Regions from separate parts of the Homo sapiens genome. Here regions 1 and 3 are each linked to region 2. Evidence: promoter capture Hi-C in 16 types of primary human blood cells and fetal thymus (Javierre and others, 2016). All regions are on one chromosome and are shown on one strand. Each heading gives the region's core, a stretch centred on a gene start or on the middle of the fragment in contact. The rest is flanking DNA. Distances are from core to core; before and after follow the strand shown. Region 1 holds the start of KIAA0825. Region 2 holds the start of ST8SIA4 (ST8 alpha-N-acetyl-neuraminide alpha-2,8-sialyltransferase 4). Region 3 holds the start of GLRX (glutaredoxin).

The links. Contacts are between HindIII fragments. The CHiCAGO score rates a contact against its expected background, and 5 or more counts as called.
Region 1: the fragment with the promoter of KIAA0825 here is called in contact with the fragment with the promoter of ST8SIA4 in region 2 in 1 of 17 cell types (naive CD8 T cells); the score reaches 7.9 in naive CD8 T cells.
Region 3: the fragment with the promoter of GLRX here is called in contact with the fragment with the promoter of ST8SIA4 in region 2 in 3 of 17 cell types (non-activated CD4 T cells, naive CD8 T cells and total B cells); the score reaches 9.5 in non-activated CD4 T cells.

What each region holds. Positions count from the first base shown.
Region 1 is chr5:94,616,492-94,620,225 of GRCh38, reverse strand. KIAA0825 reads left to right here and starts at 1,622. Exons shown (of 21, transcript NM_001145678.3): 1 at 1,622-1,726. It overlaps SLF1 (SMC5/6 complex localization factor 1), which reads right to left and starts at 1,557. Exons shown (of 21, transcript NM_032290.4): 1 at 1,461-1,557. RefSeq lists enhancers at 836-945, 1,336-1,515, 1,826-2,005, 1,744-2,608. The HindIII fragment of the contact is 3,766 bases long and covers 1-2,285 here.
Region 2 is chr5:100,900,542-100,904,598 of GRCh38, reverse strand. ST8SIA4 (ST8 alpha-N-acetyl-neuraminide alpha-2,8-sialyltransferase 4) reads left to right here and starts at 1,317. Exons shown (of 5, transcript NM_005668.6): 1 at 1,317-1,756. The coding sequence starts at 1,644. It overlaps LOC107986437 (a long non-coding RNA gene), which reads right to left and starts at 1,191. Exons shown (of 2, transcript XR_001742825.3): 1 at 1-1,191. RefSeq lists enhancers at 1-154, 935-1,174, 1,660-2,229, 3,367-3,868, 3,975-4,057. The HindIII fragment of the contact is 2,860 bases long and covers 1-1,770 here.
Region 3 is chr5:95,820,170-95,824,096 of GRCh38, reverse strand. GLRX (glutaredoxin) reads left to right here and starts at 1,371. Exons shown (of 3, transcript NM_001118890.2): 1 at 1,371-1,641. The coding sequence starts at 1,435. RefSeq lists enhancers at 123-623, 854-943, 2,860-2,999. The HindIII fragment of the contact is 7,969 bases long and covers 1-3,927 here.

The DNA of each region.
Region 1 (3,734 bases), core at 373-2,872, 6.3 Mb after region 2:
ATTCAAGTATTTGAACATCCTAGTTCCTTTAAATTAAGAATACTCAAGAGTTACCCGGTGGCTCACGCCTGTAATCCCAGCACTTTGGGAGGCCGAGGCGAGCGGAACACTTGAGATCAGGAGTTCGAGACCAGCCTGGACAGCATGGTGAAACCCTGTCTCTATTAAAAATACAAAACATTAGTCGGGCGTGGTGTCGCGCACCTGTAATCCCAGCTACTCGGGAGGCTGAGATAGGAGAATTGCTTGAACCTGGGAGCCGGAGGTTGCAGTGAGCCGATAGGCACTGCACTCCAGCCTGGGCAACAGAGCAAGGCTCTGTCAAAGAAAGAAAGAAAGCAAAGGAAGGAAGGAAAGGTAAGAAAAGAAAATAAAGAAATATACTCTTTAATATAAATTCACCTCATACTAGCAACTTAGGTATTGAACACCTGCAATATACGTAATCAAACTTTCCAATAATGAGAACATCTTGCACATCCACAGGTATTTCCAAGAATTGAGGCACAACGGAATAACATAAACCAAAAAGTCCACAAGGTGCATTGTCTGTCACACATACATTGTAAATTCAGTTCAAATGTTCATTCCCAATATTTCAACAACAACAACAAAATTTTTTAATAAAGTCATTCGTCAAAAAAGAGGCTGGCGCCTCCAAAATCAAGCTCCATCTAACTCCTGAGTCAAATAATGATATGAAGTACCCGAGACGGACCAATTTTTTTTTTGTCAATATTTAATCTGAGGCTTTGGAAGTGGAAGAAATCTTAAAATAGCCACTCAGTCTTGTTTCCAGCCTTCAGGCAGCTGAAATATAAACCCCAGGAACACAGACCCTCCCTTCAGCGAAAAGTGTATGTGTGTATGTTTGTGTTTAAAGGCCTATAGCAGTCAGAGATAGGATCACTGCCGTTTTAGCAGTTTAAAAAAAAAAAATTCTACTAGAGAGGAAAGAATGACACAATTTTCTTCGTCACAGGAAAGTGGGCCTGGGGTATCCCAGCCACCTTCGCAGACGCTAAGTTATGGAAAGCAGCCAAAATTCTGGTATCAGGATGAGGCGTCCCCATGGGTTCTATGGAAACGAGAGACGCGGGGGGCCTAGCGCCTTCCAGGCGGCGGGCCGAGCGGCAGAGCTGCGCAAGCAGAAGCGGGGGAAGTGGCTCAGCCCAGTACTGCAGAGGGGCGCTCGGTGGCAGTCCCCGCAGCGGCACGGGCGAAGCGTCGCGGGGTCTGCAGCTGCAGCCCACCAACTCCGGCGCCGAGCGCGAAGTCGGGAGAGCTGGAACGAACTGCAGCTGGAGAAAGCGCGAGAGCCAGACACCGCTGCCGCTCACCCCAGCCGCTTCCTTCCTAGCCTCACAGCCGGGAGGCAGAAACTTCGGAGGTACCGCCCGGCGAAGAAACATCCCCACAGAGACAGAATACACTGTGTCTTCCTAGCTGAGCCCCTTTACCTTCCCGGTGTCTGGGATGCTTCCTTCGGTGGCAGCGGCGGCAGGGGCGACGACTGCCGCTGCAGCACTCAACTGCTTCACGAATCCGGGCTCTGGGAAACAATTTCCCGCCGCGCGCTAGGCAGCCCCGGAAGCGATAGTACCATTTCCGGGTGGTTGTCAGTGACGCTCCGGAGCCGTCGCCAGGGTGGTAATACCTGGTGCAGAGCTTGAGTCTGGCCAGCGGGTCAGGCTCTTGCTAGATCAGCACCGGAGGTGGAAGACTGGTAAGTGATTTTACTGGGTTTTCTCCTGCGCCTGATATTAATGGCTGGCCGGGGCTCTGTGCAGCATTATGGCCAGCCCGAGAAGTGAGTGGGCGAGGGTGGAACCAGAAGGAGTCCCCATCAAACCCCGTGGCGCTTGACACCCAGTGCAGCTGGAGAAGGCCCTGGGATCCCGGCTTACCGTCTTATCCACTCGCAAAATCTGTCTCCGACTTGGAACTCGACCTCGGGTCACCAAGTGTCCCTGGGCGAGGCCGAAGACACCGTGTACCGTGACTCGGCGTTGTGCCGAGTTTCTCTACCAATGATCAACGAGTTTCCTATCTCCCATTGGCAGCGTTTGGCCACTCTTGATTCCTGAGTACTGTTTCCGTAGTTCTGGGGTGCCGTGCCTGGAAGGCAGGAGGTTGGCTGAAGAAGACATCTTTTACAAACATTTAGGAAGTGAGATGGGGAGGTTCCTTCCTGATTTAGAATTAATTGAAGGTTCCTCCCGCCATTTGAATTGGATGAGAAGAACGGTCTTTGTTTTCATGGCTGAGACATAAGAGAACAAGCTTGTAATTTCATGCTTGGGCATTAGATGCATTTTTGGAAAGCAGTGATCAGTAAGTATGTGTGCTTTCAGAAAGGAATGCTTGCGTTCTGCTCCAGGCTTTGTCGATAATGAAGGATTCAGGAGAATTTTGGATGGAGGTCTGAGGTAGCCAGAATAGTTGTAAAGAGAAATTGCTTCCGACAAAGGGATAATGTGAGGAAAGGTGCTCATTTAAGATTTGAAAGATGTGATGTAGTGAACCTTGGCGACTTCTCTTAAGTAATGCAATTTCTTAGGTAACTAGTTTTCACTTGCCACCTTATATTTAGATAATTACCTCCCCACCAACCCCCGTAAAAGGCAGCTGACTGTTATTTTTTCAAAACAGTCAGTTCCCGAAAGAGTTGTAGGTACTATTGCATTTTTTTTATGGGTATGCTCCTCATACCCATAAAAACATTTTCTTTATCGGAGCATACCGATAAAGAAAAATGCAATATGTTCAATTCAAGGCCCCTGTTAACACCAGGCCAGTGTCTTCTTAACCTTTTGAGAGTAATGCAACAAACCATATTTAGGACAGCACATTGATTTTCTGGCCTTGTTGGTTAATAATTCAACAAACTTATAATCGCCCCATTAATCCCAATCTTGACATTTTGTTGAATCTTGTATTTTTTCTTTATTTCTCCAGTTGAAAGTATTATAAATTACTTCAGGGATATTATGTATTATATCTGTACAGCAACTAGTTTTTAGAGGCAGTGATTTCTCTCTTTGAATTGCTCTTGAATGTAGCCAATCATTAATACTTACCCCAAGTAGATACTGTCTGCCAGGCACTTTACATTTATTATTTTATTTAATGTTTAATAAAAAAAGAAAATCACAAAAATTGTATTATTTCTATTTTGCAAAACATTTTATACTGAGACCCAAAGAGGTTGTGATTTTCCATAAATTATACAATTAAATGGCACAATTAAAATTTGAATCCAGTCTACCTGACTCTAAATTTTGGCTCTTTTTACTGTGCTCTATACCTTTATAAGTAAACATAACAGTATCATTATTTTCACTCCAGGTAAAAATGGATAGATAGTATGTCACATTTAGAAATCAAGTGGATAGCAAAACTTGAGGATAAAAGGGACTTAAGGGATGTGTTCATCACCATAAGGTAATTTTGACATCTAAATAATGCAGTTTCTTTAGTGCCTTTATCCTTGGCCAGTTTTATTATCCTAATTCAAACAAATGCCTATACTGTACATTAGCATAACACTTGGGGCAAATGCAGAAGATCTGGAGACCATCAGCAAGCATATTGGTGACTGAGTCCAGAGTATCAGCTAACTATCTCTTTAGACAGCTTTTCACACACACATTTGTATACATGTATATTTGTGTGTGCATGTGTGTGTGTGTGTGTAGGGAGAAAGAATGAGTAAATGAGCACAAATTCATAAA
Region 2 (4,057 bases), core at 68-2,567:
CAACTCAGAATTCCCCTTCTTACTTCCGGCGGGAGGGAAGATTGGAATTGGGCCTCATCATTTCTGAGCGTGAAAAACCGCTGAAGCTACTGTTCAACCTGAAGGAACACGGAATTCAACTGGAGAGAAACCCTGGCGACCAGGGAGCTGGGGACCGGCGCATATAGATGAGGGAAATCCTGGCTTCCAGACACTGTCTCATGCTAGAGGTGCCTCCCGACCTACCAGCCAACAGTAAAGACCGGAACCAAGGCGTGGTACTAGCAGAGTAGCAAGCATCTCTCCCAATGAGGGCAACGACTGGAGGATGGTGGAGAGGTACTCAGAGTGAACAATCGAACACAGAACTCTTGAAAAGTGTCCCTGCCACCCAATACAAGTACGAAAAATGGTGGGACGGAGGAGAGGTGACAATCAGAGGCTATATATATAATTGAGACTTTTAGAGAGGACTTTGCTCTTCCTTCCTCCCCTCCCTTTTCTTTCCTTTCTTTCTTTCCTTCCTTCCTTGGTATCCGAATGTGTGTGGGTGTACTTGCGTTTAAAAGAGAGGTCCATGGTAGCTGCTTTTTTTTCAGAACTCTGTTTCTCCGCAATGAAGTTTAAGTGGGATTGGAGTTTCCTTGACTTCTGCGTGAGGAGTTTCCAAATGGCAATGAAAGGGAGGCGCATAAATATCCATAAAGTTCCTAATGACACCTCTATCATCACTTGTTTCCTGCAGAATCCTGAGCCAGGGTCGTCGTCCACCACCCATGCAGAGTGGGCCCATCGGCTAACAGGTTCATGTGTGTATTTGCACTTTCCAGATTGAGTAATAAAAGTCTTCTTCCTTCCACCGCCGTCCCCACCCCCGCACCCCGTTTCACTCCACCTTGGAGGGCGTGTTTTTGCGTGTGAGGGTGTGTGTTTAGCAAAAGCGATTGAAAGAAGGTACTCTTCTTGCAATCCACCCCTAGCTCTACCTGAAGCATTCCTCTGGCGGGACGCTTTTGTAATCTGTCCCCAGGCGAGGTGCCCTCTCACCTAGATGCGGATAGACTATCTTGGAGCTCCCAGGTCCAGAGAGCTGATGCTTTGATGTCCCAGGAGAGTGTGTGTGATTCTGCGTGTACGTGTGTGTGCATATGTATGTATGTGTGTATGTATGTATATGTGTATGTGCGCGAGCTCGCAGGCGCGTAGCACTGTGAGCTTCCTCTCCCGGCACAGAGCAGGCAGAGCCGGGGACGTTACTCTCCAAGCAGCCTCCGCCCCCTCAGCCTGGTGATTGGCTTTGCGCAGCGTTTATCTCCTAGCAAGAGGGAAGGGCCAGTGACGCCCCCGAACCCAGCTGCAGAAGCTGCCGCCACCTCCAATGCACAAGGTGTCTCATCTGAAAAGAAACCTGAGCCCCAGGGAGGCGGCGCGGAGCGACCCTGGCAGAGCTGGCGCAAACAGGGCGAGAGGTCGCTGGGCAGCGTTCGAGGACCAGAGGGAGCTCGGCCACAGAAGACCCCAGTGATCTGATCCCGGGATCCCGGCTCCAAGCTCTCCTCGCATTTTACAGATTTCACCCCCGCGACTATCTCCCCAAAACGGAGCCTTTATATCAAGAGAAGGTGCGGGAGCTGGGGCAACCAGGACTTTCTCGGGCACCCAAGATGCGCTCCATTAGGAAGAGGTGGACGATCTGCACAATAAGTCTGCTCCTGATCTTTTATAAGACAAAAGAAATAGCAAGAACTGAGGAGCACCAGGAGACGCAACTCATCGGGTAAATGCAAAGCTTCATTTCAGGATATGACAAAAAGTCAAGCCATAAATGAAATGTGAATATAGAGGGTAGAGTGATGGTTAGGATAGCATGTGTGTTTGTTTGAGCTTGCGCGTGGTTAGTGTCATGAATTAAATAACAAAGGCTGTTGTTGAGATGTGCGTGCTTCTCTAAGCTGTTCCCAGTATGAGTTCAACTTGCTCTGTGTGGTTGTGGTGACAGTTGTGTTGGCCCTGGGTGCTCTCTCGCCAAAGGAGAAGTCACTGCAGAAGTGTCAACAAAGAACGTGTGTCCTTGTCCTTTTAATCTGTGGGCAGAACTCAAGAGAAATGTCTTTATTCACCAAACGGTTGCCTGTTTTCAATGTCCTATCACCTAAGGAGATACTGGAGATAGATGGTTTCTCGAAGGGCTGAAGTTAAAGCTTAGAAAGCAGGAAATAGGTATACTCTGTTTCTCTACTTTTTTTTTTTCTATTTGACGTTGGATAGATTAATGTGTTATAATTTGAATTAGAAACTCCAGTACCACTAAGGATACTTCCTTATTTGTTCTTCTACGGCTAAAACGCATGGGCGTCATGGTTACAGTTTTAGAAAGAAACTGGGTACTGTAGCTTCACACAGACTATATTTCTGCTATTTTTTTTAGTTTGTCTAGATGAGTTCAGACTCTCCCCCGCCCCACTAAGTTCTCTAAATATCACACTTCCTTCCACCCGCTGGCCTCTGTGTCTTTGAAGTTTACCCAGGAGGTGGTGCAACTTTGTGTTGCTGACATAGCTTGGAAGGCTTTTTCTGAGGATGTGAACCTGATTGTCAACTCTATTCAAAGTCCTGTTTCGGAAATCCTCCCTGTTCCGGTTTGGAGGCGTCCTCTATCAGAAACTACACACCAGCAGAGATGCCTGCCCAGTTTATATTTTTCTCTGACATTGATTAAAACAAAGAAAACAGCCCTTGCGTGTGTGTGTATGTGTGTGTGAGAGAGAGAGAGATGGGACTGCTAACACACACACATGCTCTTAAACTTCCTGCACTCCATTTCTTAATATTCCTGCTCCCTAGGTAATAAGCATTTATTTAAGCGAGCAAGATGCAGGTTGATCCTTACAGAAGGACTTGCTATTCTGTAGAAAACCAGGAAAACAGTAGCACAGTCAAAGCGGACTGGAAGAGAATGAAAAAGCTAGCAAGGAATGGGCTGGAATGGTCGTCATGCATCAACGAATCTATACATGGTCTATTCTGAGGGGGTAAAAAAGACCGGTATGAGGTCGTTTACACAAGACTGGGTGGCTTGAAAATCCAATCTAGCTCAGTTGTTAGAAAAGCAGGACTTTGGGCAGGGGCGTGGGCATCCCTTGCAGACCTGTGCTTGCCAGGCAGACAAAGGGGTCTTTAGAAAGGTGATGAATGGGCGCATGGGGCTCCGATGAGAGGCAGAGGCTAGAGCTTGAGGGTCGAGGCTCTTTGTTCCCTCCCGGGCCGTGGGCTAGGAGGATAAGCCTGATCCCAGACAAAGCGGCCAAGGCTCACTAGGACTCCGAGGGTTCGGGCCCTTGGCTGGGACCCTGGAGAGCAGGAGTGGGCGGAGCGAGTGAGAAGAGGGTCGCCAGATACTGCCGAGGTGTCCATCTCCGAGCCTCCCTAAACCGTGGCCAGGAAAAGGAGCGCACCTCGAGTCCCTGCGGGGAAGCGGAGCCGGGACACTCCGCATTGCACGGGTGTCATTTCTCCTGTGGCCCTTTCCTGGACGTTGCCGGCTGGTGGGCGCAGCCCTAGGCGTTAAGGAAGAGGAGGCGGGCACTGGCGCGGCGGTTGAGCTAGTCGGGCTGGGCTTTTGCCCGCATCCTTTTCAAGCTGAAGCAGTTTCCTCCCAGCTTGACTGAGAAGGCGTTGGGGCAGGCGCTTGAGTAAACCAAACAGGAAGAGAGGCGCGCACCGGGGTTATCCCCTGCTGCCAGAGCGCCGGCGGCGAGGGGGAAAGAATGAGTGAGAAGATAGGGGGAAACCTTTATTGCAGGACTCAGGCTCTTTTGGTCCCTCCCCTCCTTCCACCCCCACCCCACCCCCACCCCCCACCCAAAGTCACTTTCAAAGCTCAGTCGGCAACTGGCTCCTCCTTCTTAATCAAAACCCGCAATTACAGTGGGGCAAGGCAGAGGGCTGGCCGCGAACGTCGCGCTTACACCCGTGCCCTGTAGCGTCCTGACTGCCTTGGTCTCCTGAGAGACCAAGACTGTGCAAGGAGTTGGAGCTGCCAGGAACAATGCGAGGGCAGCTAGGCTCCCTGAGCACT
Region 3 (3,927 bases), core at 122-2,621, 5.1 Mb after region 2:
CCAGCCCTGCCACATCCTTTTCTCTGGACAGAGCTGTCACTTAGCTCCCCCTCCGTGACTCAGAATCTGGCTTTCTCATTTTGCCATTTTAATTCTAGTAACGATGAGAGTCACAGTAAAAAGCTGCTTCTGGGAGTGGATTTTCTTCCCTTCCCTTGATCGCAGTATGCTTGGGATTCCTCTTACGTGGCAGTCGTGGTGTCCAGCTCTGGCCTTGGCCCCGCCTCTTTGAAGATACTCTGGTTTCACCATAAAACTTCCTGGGGAAAGGATGATTCACGTTTAAAGGACATAGTTTTTCCTTGATTTGTTTATTTAAGCTACCATACACTAGAGGGGGCCGGAACTAGACCCAGGAGTAGAGGACTTTGCTTTGCGGGATAAGGAGAATGGGCACCCTGGGGAAGAGCGAAAGATTTCCTACTGTTACAACCCGTGTCTTATAACACTTGAAGTGAATGTGGTGTCTGAGTTACAACACTACTTCCCCTCACAAACAGTTAAAAGCAGAGGGTCACAAACATAGGCTCAACCAGAAAAAAAGATTCTCATTTCATCTGTAGTTTTGTATCAAGGATTGTGTTGGAATTTGCCTCCATATTAAACTGCTGTTCAAGGGTTACCAACTCAAATGGTTATGGGGTGAAGCCGGTGTCTCAGGCATGGGCCTGTCGTTGGGACCTGTGGCAAACCAAAGCCACTACTTGCCCTATACAAAGGGGGCAACAGCTGTCAGCCCCAGCAGCTTCCACTAAAAGGTGCAAGCTCTGTATTGCCCGACCTGACTTTTCAGAGAGAAGTTTTAAGTCCGAATTGTTTTGTGAGACCTCCAGATTTTTAAATACTGAGAATGAATTCCATTAAAAAGATCACAACAACAAACACCCACCATACAGTCCAAGCAAAATGCTGTGAGAGCAACCTTCATGAGGAGTGCAAAGTCACAGTTTCAATTTCACTTCTTCTAAAGAGATTTCCAAGTGTTCTGTTTCTTAAGTGATTCTGTTTGCATTTTAAAATACAACTGTATCTCCTAGAGGGAAAACAAGAATTTGCTCTAAGAAGTCACTGCCTCCTCAGCCCCTTTGTGAGTAAGCACTTTATGCTTCCCCAGAGGTGACTAAACTCTGATCATTGCCAATGGGCAGGCACTCCCCAAATGTCCAAGGACAACAAAGATACCCAGAGTGTCTTTCATAGCTACCAATGATTAAATAGCAAGTATTGCATTCCTGGGCATTGCTAACTAGTGAAGTATACCAGATGGAAATGTCTTCGAAGCTGTCCCTTTAAAACTCGAGCAAGCTACCAGGCAAACTCCGCCTCCAGGGAGGTTCCTTATTAAATAGGAGCCAACTGGCTGGGTCGGGGCTCAATACCCCAAGCAATACCTGCAACTGAGGATTCTTCCCGGGGAGACCGCAGCCCATCGGCATGGCTCAAGAGTTTGTGAACTGCAAAATCCAGCCTGGGAAGGTGGTTGTGTTCATCAAGCCCACCTGCCCGTACTGCAGGAGGGCCCAAGAGATCCTCAGTCAATTGCCCATCAAACAAGGGCTTCTGGAATTTGTCGATATCACAGCCACCAACCACACTAACGAGATTCAAGATTATTTGCAACAGCTCACGGGAGCAAGAACGGTGAGTTTCATTTTAAACGGCTAGGGAAAGGCTCCCGGATTGCCTTTTCTTGTCAGAGCTGTGCCTTTCTTTAGGATAAGGCTGCGGCTCCGTACTTCAAGGCGTCCAGAGGGCTGTGCGGGGCGGGGGGTGTGGGGGAGGGCGCCTTAGAGAGGATCTCGGTCACTTGAATGAGCGGCGGCACTGCAGCCAAAGGTCTTCACGGGGCAGAAGAGGGAGTACAGCTGATGTCTGCTGTGCGGCAGGGTAAGTGGGACCAGCAGCTTGCCGGTGAGTCCCTGGGGAATTATCTAGAGTCTTTGTTTTAAGCACTGCCAGGAAATGACAGTTTTCAGTTGGCAGGGCTGGAGGTGGAAGCTGGGGTGGAGGGCCGGGTGTGATGTGTTTGTTATTTAACATGAGATTCATGTTCTTCATTCTTTTCTCTAGGCTTTCTTTTTCTAATTTGCTCATTCTTCCTTATCTAATTCCTCCCACTGGAAAAATCTAATGTACCGTTATCTGCCCCTTGTTCTAAATTAATTATGGATGTTTCCAGGCCCCACATTGTAGGGAATCATAGCCTGGAGTTCTGGCCTGGCTCTTATAATGGCTGGCTGTGTGATCCTGGGCAAGTCACCACCCCAGTAGTCCTCAAAGATCCCAGCTGCAAGACCAGATTAGGTGACCTCAGAGTCCCATTTGCTACGAATAGACTGTGGGACCCTCTAAAAATTGCTCTCCTCCATCCGAAAGACTTCCCTCTCTTCAGCATCCTTGGCTTTGCGTCCTGGGCTTCAGGAGGGATGCCAGCCACATCACCTGTATCAGTTCTGCTGTGAGGTGGGATGAGAAATGTCCCACCAGCTCAGCTAAGTTCTCTTTTACGATGCACGAATTCTACAGCACAGTGTTAGGCCAAGCACATATCCTATTTCAGTTTTAGTTTGACTTACAAGGTTGTCTCTGGGTTCTGAGTATAAAGCATTGGAGGTTGTTTCTCTCCCCTTCTCTCTAATAAGAAGTCAGCATTTTGGTGCAGAAAGGGGGCTTAGTGTGTTATCCTACTGCTGTGTGCTGAGGTCCTGGAGTATACACAATGACGAGAGAAGCTCTTGCTGCCTAGTGGGACCACCAGCTGCATAGGATGCCCAGGCCCTGAGAGGTGTAAAGGGCAGTGCAAACACTACTACGGGCCCCACTGTGGCTGCCACCCTGAGGACCTTTTAGCCATTGGTTCCCAAACTTTGCTGCACATTAGGATCACCTAGAGAGCTTTTAAAACAATCCTTATGCCCAAATTATGCCCCTCAATAACTAAATCACAATGTCAGAGGTGGGAGCCAAGCATTAGTTTTGTTTGTTCGTTTGTTTTGAGACAGTTTCATTCTTGTCACCCAGGCTGGAGTGCAATGGTGCAATCTTGGCTCACTGCAACCTCTGCCTCCTGGGTTCTCCTCAACCTCCCAAGTAGCTGGGATTACAGGCGCCCACCACCATGCCCAGCTAATTTTTGTATTTTTAGTAGAGACGGGGTTTCACCATGTTGGCCAGGCTGGTGTCGAACTCCTGACCTCAGGCGATCCACCTACCTCGGCCTCCCAAAGTGCTGGGATTAAACGGGTGAGCCACCACACCTGGGATTTTTATTTGGAAAAATCCCTTGGGGATTCCAATGTGCAACACAATTGGGATTATTGTTCTCAGCCCAACAGCATCTATTTTCCAGGAGGTAAAGCAAACCTCTTCATGTGTTCATTTAACAATTGCTTTTTTTTTTTTTTTGAGATGGAATTTCGCTCTTGTCGCCCAGGCTGGAGTGCAGTGGTGTGATTTTGGCTTACTGCAACCTCCACCGCCCAGGTTCAAGCAATCAAGTAGCTGGAATTACGGGCACCTGCCACCACACCTAGCTAATTTTTGTATTTTTATTAGAGATGGGGTTTCACCATGCTGGCCAACCTGGTCTCGAACTCCTGACCTCAGGTGATCCACCCACCTCAGCCTCCCAAAGTGCAGGTGTGAGCTACCACACCTGGTCAACAATTGCTTTTTCATTTCTTTGTAGAACAACAATATTTCTTGTAGTAATCTTTTAAGGTTTTTTTTTTTTTTTTTTTTTTTAAGAGACAGAGTCTTGCTCTGTCACCCAGGCTAGAGTGCAGTGGTGCAATGATAGCTGACTGCAGCCTCGAACTCCTGGGCTTAAGTGACCCTCCCACCTCAGCCTCCCGTGGCTGGGACTACAGGCATGAGCCATCATACCCAGCTAATTTTTTAAGTTTTTGTACAGATGGGGGTCTTGTT